Linked DNA regions of Homo sapiens: region 2 is linked to region 1. Evidence: promoter capture Hi-C in 16 types of primary human blood cells and fetal thymus (Javierre and others, 2016). All regions are on one chromosome and are shown on one strand. The core of a region is centred on a gene start or on the middle of the fragment in contact, and the rest is flanking DNA. Distances in the headings are between cores, read along the strand shown. Region 1 holds the start of ZBTB7B (zinc finger and BTB domain containing 7B). Region 2 overlaps ADAR (adenosine deaminase RNA specific).

Region 1 (2,841 bases), core at 313-2,812:
CTGATAAGCGGTCTCCCTCCTCCAGGAATAAGTTGGGGGAAGGGGGAATAGCTGCGCTGACTCATTCCCATTCTCGGCTGCAGCTAGGGGTCTCCAAGGCATTCGGGCGGGGGTCAATTCAAGAACACCCTCCACCTGGCCCGGAAGCCTGGACAGCCTGCCGGTCTCCCCCTCTCCCCAGCACCCACTTCCGGTGTCCCAAACTAGGTCAGCAGCGCTCGTTTCCTGTGGGTCAGCTAGCACCGGCGCCTCTGCCCCTCCCCTGCTCCGGACCCAGGCTCCCCGCCCCCCTGCCCCCCAGGGCGCCCCGAGGTCTCACCATGTCTCAGCCGCCCTTTGATACGTGGGGGTTGTGCGGGGCGGGGGGCAGGGGACCCGCCCTCTCTCTAAACACCAGCAGGGCCGGGGCGCCTGGGCAGGCACGTGTCCGGGCACAACCCGCTGCCCACGCCGCCCCCCCACTCCCGCCCCCACCTCGCTCTGGCCGGGACACGTCGCTCTCTTACTTGGGATGGGGTGGGAGGAGGGAGAGAAAGCTGGAAATTGAAAGCAGCGCCCCCCACCCCTTTGAATGGCAGCCTTCTGCCAGGCGCACTCTGTAGGTTCTACAACAACACAGTAGCGACCCCCACTCTGGGCTGGGGCAGGTGCGCCGGCGCCGGTGGGGGGACGGGTAGTAGGTAGGAGAATTCTTCCTAGTCACCCGCCCTCGCTCTTGGGTTCTGTGGTCATGAGCTGGCGTGGAAAAGGTAGCGGCGGGACTGGAGCCTGAAGGAAGGGAGTGGGATTGAGGGGCAGGGAAGAGAGCGGTCGTTCTATGTCGGTTCAGAGGTTGTTGCTGAGCCCCACTACCGCTGGAGAGAGCGCGGCTCTGGAAGCGCAAGAAACCGAATAGTCCAGCCGGTAACTTTCCCCCAAGCCGCGGCTCCTCCTGCGCCCCCCCAACCCCCATGCAACTGGCCTGGGGCCAATCCACCGCGCCAGGGGGCGCGGGGTGGGGGGGGGGTGCGCGTTGTCCTAGTTAGAGTCCGTCAGCGTTTCCATTCCCTCAACTCAGTCCGGTCTGGGGTCTCCCCCTAAAGTCACGAAGGAGACTGGGGGAACGCTCAGCGTCGCCTCACCCCCTCTCCATCCCGAAGCCGTCTGTCTGTCTGATCCCAGGAGAAGTGCAGATAAACTTTCTGGGGACCCTCCGCCTAGGGTTGGGGGGCATCCGCAGTTCCTTCTCTGTCTTTCATCTCAGTTAAAACCAATTCCAGAGACCCGGGGTGTTGGGAAAGCACAGGGAAGGGGAGTGGTGGGAATGTGATCTGCATGCGTGTGTATCTGGGGGTCCCACTTACAGGACGGACGAAGGACACTGCAGTAGTCTCGAGCCTAGTGAACCCCGAGCCAGGAGACAAAAGTGGGGTACACTCACCTCTCAGCCGTCGGGTCCGCTGGCTGGAGCTGCTGAGGCTCACAGTGTGGGAAGAAGCGCGTCCCCCACCAGGCCCGGGGGCTTGGGGCCCTGCTCCGGTCCTGGTCAGAAGGCCGCGGTCAGTTGCTCGCCGCTCGCTGCTGGGGGGCTCCTCCTCCGCCGCCCTCTGCCTCCTCCTGCCGCCCGCCCCCCCTCGGCCGCCAAGAGCCGTACATTCACCTGGCTCCCACCCGCCCCCCCCTCAGGGCCCGCCTCACCTGTCCTGCTGTCTCACCTGTCCTCCAGCTTGCTTTCCCCCCATCCCTCCCCTCCCTCCCCCCGCCCCTGCCACCCCCCAAACTCCCCCCCCCCAACACTTAGAAACACCCTCTGTCACTTCCTGGTTTTTCACCCGCCCCCCCAGGCCCCCTCCCTCCGCCCAATAAGGACATAAACTTCAACCCCTTCGTCCAGCCAGTCCCTGCAGAGCGCAGATGGGTCCCTCCCTCCTTTTTTGCCCCCTTCTCCAAACTCTTACTTAGCTCTCCTAGCCTTTCCCACCCTCCTCCTTTCCCTCCTTCTTTCCTTCTCTCTGTCTCCCTTCACCTGCCGCGGTCCCTCTCTCCCCCCCCTTTCTCCTGCCCCTATCTCTCCCAGTCCACCTTAACTCAAACTCCGCCCCCGGCCCCCATCCAGCCCTTTGCTGCTGCTCTGCCCGCCCCCTGCACGCCACCGCCCTGTCCGCTCATTGGCCTGAATACCCGCTCATCTCCAGTAGGTCTCGCCTTGCGTTCGTCCAGGGAGGGGGCGGAGCCGAGGGGCTGGCCTGGAACCTGGAGAGGAGGGGGGAGGGGGCAGTGTCCGCAGCGGCCAGGGAATCGAGCACCCCCTACAGGGGCTCCCTCTCCTTCAAGAGGGGCTTCTGTAGGGTCAGGACCTCAGGAGGGAAGGGTATGAGAGGTTAGGGATAGGCTGGGTGGGGGTGAATTGGGGACTTAGGGTCTTGAGGGAGGGGGTCCCGTGAGGGGCTGTAATCAGGTCAGGGACCTAGAAGGGAGGGGGAGGGGGAGCCACCAGGCCTTCGGCTCCGGCCCCTACGCCCCACCCCCTCTCGGAGGGAGCCGGGGAGTTGAGCCTGCGGGCGCCCTGCGTCCCTCCCCACGCGTGACGGTGCCCCGCGGGGAGGGAAGGGCGCCCCAGGCAAGCAGCCTCTGTGCTGTCGCCAGTGCCCGCTGCGGCCTTGGCATTGTCGGAGGGGAGGGGCCCAGTCTGCGAAGGGGGAGGGGGCGCGCCGACGCTTTTGCTCCCCACCTCCATCCCGCGGGTTCCCTAAGTGGAGAAACTGAGTCTCCACCGAGGAGGGATAGCTTGACATGAATTCGCTGAGAGACCCAGGTGGCGAGGGGTGCCTGGATGTTTTGGGATGTGTGGTATGTGTAGGT
Region 2 (2,736 bases), core at 205-2,704, 400 kb after region 1:
CCAGGACACCATGAGAGTGATTGACAAGAATGCTGAAATCCCCTAAGTGTGTCAGGATGTGGAAGAGTAGAAGGCTAGAGTTATGGAAGAAAGGGTCCCACCTCTACCTGTGCAGCCTCCAGGAGAGTCTGAGGAGGGGGCGGTGAGTGTGAGTAAATGTTGTCAGAATCCCTCCTCCCAGTCTACAAGCCCCAGGGAAAGGAAGCAAGGTGTTTACTGACACCCCCAGGCTTATAAGTACTTCCTGGCTCCATCACCCTCCAGTGAACAGCCCTGGGGAGAAGACAGTACTGGTTTGCAGGTGGGTGGGTGGGGAAAGGGGTCACAGGTGCTTGGTGTTCTGGTAAATGTGCATATGAGAACATGGGGTTGCTTGTGCCCTGTCCGTCAGGGTTCAGAAGAACGTGCAGTGGAAGCAGCTATGGGGAAGTAGCTAGGGAAGGTAGGACTGGTCTGAGGTGGTGAGGAGCAGATGCTGCCAGCTCCACACATCCAGGAGAGCCTGGGTGGTTTGGGCAAAAGTCTCTGGCATCCCTTCTGAGCCTGGGTACCACACTGAAGAGTGAGGACAGTGTGCCATTTTTATCAGGAAACCCTCCAGCTCCCTGAAGACCAAATTCTGATCCTCCTGGGATGGCAGTGAAGAGCCACAGAGATGACTCTGAGGTCCCGTGGCCTTTTCCCACCTGGAGATTGTTTTCGTTACTGCGCTGTTACAGCCTTGGAGGACTGGGGTTCAGTTTCATCCAATCACATTTCTTCTTTTGTCATAGTCATCTAAACGATAGATCTTAGAGACAGGTGGGCAAGGGGTGCACTGGTGAGCCTGACTTAAGGAGAGGTCATCTCGTCCCTTCCCTAGTCCCATCTCCCTTGGTTATTGTTATTTCATGTGATTGTTCTGGTTATTTCAGGTTATTCTGTTTTTGTTTTCAAAACAATAACATATATTTGTTGTTCTGATTTTAAAGGGGTAATTGTTTTGGTAACTAGAAAATTACCTTCTCAACTCCCTTAAATTCTGTCAAAGGGAAAAGTAAGTTAGGTTGCTGGAGAGGCTATGCTGAGGCCTCAGAACCTCTGTATTCCTGGAAGTTCTGCGTGCTTTGCCTCCTGCTCCCCTCTCTGTGTTCCTGTTGGCAGGCCCCTAGGCAGGATTTAGGAGGTAGGCAAGTCACCCTAGCCAAGTCATAAGCCCATGGCTCAATTGCCTTCTCAGCCCTTCAAGGGCTGTTCCACAGGCAGCAAAGGGAGGGGCCTCCACAGGTTCACCACTGCAGCCCTAATTCATTTTCTTTTTCCACTGTCTTATTCTGCAGGGGTATTCCCTCAGCGGATACTACACCCATCCATTTCAAGGCTATGAGCACAGACAGCTCAGGTACCAGCAGCCTGGGCCAGGATCTTCCCCCAGTAGTTTCCTGCTTAAGCAAATAGAATTTCTCAAGGGGCAGCTCCCAGAAGCACCGGTGATTGGAAAGCAGACACCGTCACTGCCACCTTCCCTCCCAGGACTCCGGCCAAGGTTTCCAGTACTACTTGCCTCCAGTACCAGAGGCAGGCAAGTGGACATCAGGGGTGTCCCCAGGGGCGTGCATCTCAGAAGTCAGGGGCTCCAGAGAGGGTTCCAGCATCCTTCACCACGTGGCAGGAGTCTGCCACAGAGAGGTGTTGATTGCCTTTCCTCACATTTCCAGGAACTGAGTATCTACCAAGATCAGGAACAAAGGATCTTAAAGTTCCTGGAAGAGCTTGGGGAAGGGAAGGCCACCACAGCACATGATCTGTCTGGGAAACTTGGGACTCCGAAGAAAGAAATCAATCGAGTTTTATACTCCCTGGCAAAGAAGGGCAAGCTACAGAAAGAGGCAGGAACACCCCCTTTGTGGAAAATCGCGGTCTCCACTCAGGCTTGGAACCAGCACAGCGGAGTGGTAAGACCAGACGGTCATAGCCAAGGAGCCCCAAACTCAGACCCGAGTTTGGAACCGGAAGACAGAAACTCCACATCTGTCTCAGAAGATCTTCTTGAGCCTTTTATTGCAGTCTCAGCTCAGGCTTGGAACCAGCACAGCGGAGTGGTAAGACCAGACAGTCATAGCCAAGGATCCCCAAACTCAGACCCAGGTTTGGAACCTGAAGACAGCAACTCCACATCTGCCTTGGAAGATCCTCTTGAGTTTTTAGACATGGCCGAGATCAAGGAGAAAATCTGCGACTATCTCTTCAATGTGTCTGACTCCTCTGCCCTGAATTTGGCTAAAAATATTGGCCTTACCAAGGCCCGAGATATAAATGCTGTGCTAATTGACATGGAAAGGCAGGGGGATGTCTATAGACAAGGGACAACCCCTCCCATATGGCATTTGACAGACAAGAAGCGAGAGAGGATGCAAATCAAGAGAAATACGAACAGTGTTCCTGAAACCGCTCCAGCTGCAATCCCTGAGACCAAAAGAAACGCAGAGTTCCTCACCTGTAATATACCCACATCAAATGCCTCAAATAACATGGTAACCACAGAAAAAGTGGAGAATGGGCAGGAACCTGTCATAAAGTTAGAAAACAGGCAAGAGGCCAGACCAGAACCAGCAAGACTGAAACCACCTGTTCATTACAATGGCCCCTCAAAAGCAGGGTATGTTGACTTTGAAAATGGCCAGTGGGCCACAGATGACATCCCAGATGACTTGAATAGTATCCGCGCAGCACCAGGTGAGTTTCGAGCCATCATGG

What was found. The method cuts DNA at HindIII sites, captures the fragments that hold promoters and counts their contacts. A CHiCAGO score of 5 or more calls a contact.
Region 2: a contact is called between a fragment that was not itself captured here and the fragment with the promoter of ZBTB7B in region 1, in 1 of 17 cell types (naive B cells). The highest score is 5.1, in naive B cells.

What each region holds. Positions count from the first base shown.
Region 1 is chr1:155,001,523-155,004,363 of GRCh38, reverse strand. It overlaps ZBTB7B (zinc finger and BTB domain containing 7B), which reads right to left and starts at 1,562. Exons shown (of 3, transcript NM_001256455.2): 1 at 1,421-1,562. RefSeq lists silencers at 294-413, 2,124-2,313, 2,424-2,663. The HindIII fragment of the contact is 14,435 bases long and covers 1-2,841 here.
Region 2 is chr1:154,601,210-154,603,945 of GRCh38, reverse strand. ADAR (adenosine deaminase RNA specific) reads left to right here. Exons shown (of 15, transcript NM_001111.5): 2 at 1,320-2,736. Among named protein-coding and RNA genes, the nearest start is that of ADAR, 5.6 kb to the left of the region's middle. The HindIII fragment of the contact is 3,398 bases long and covers 1-2,736 here.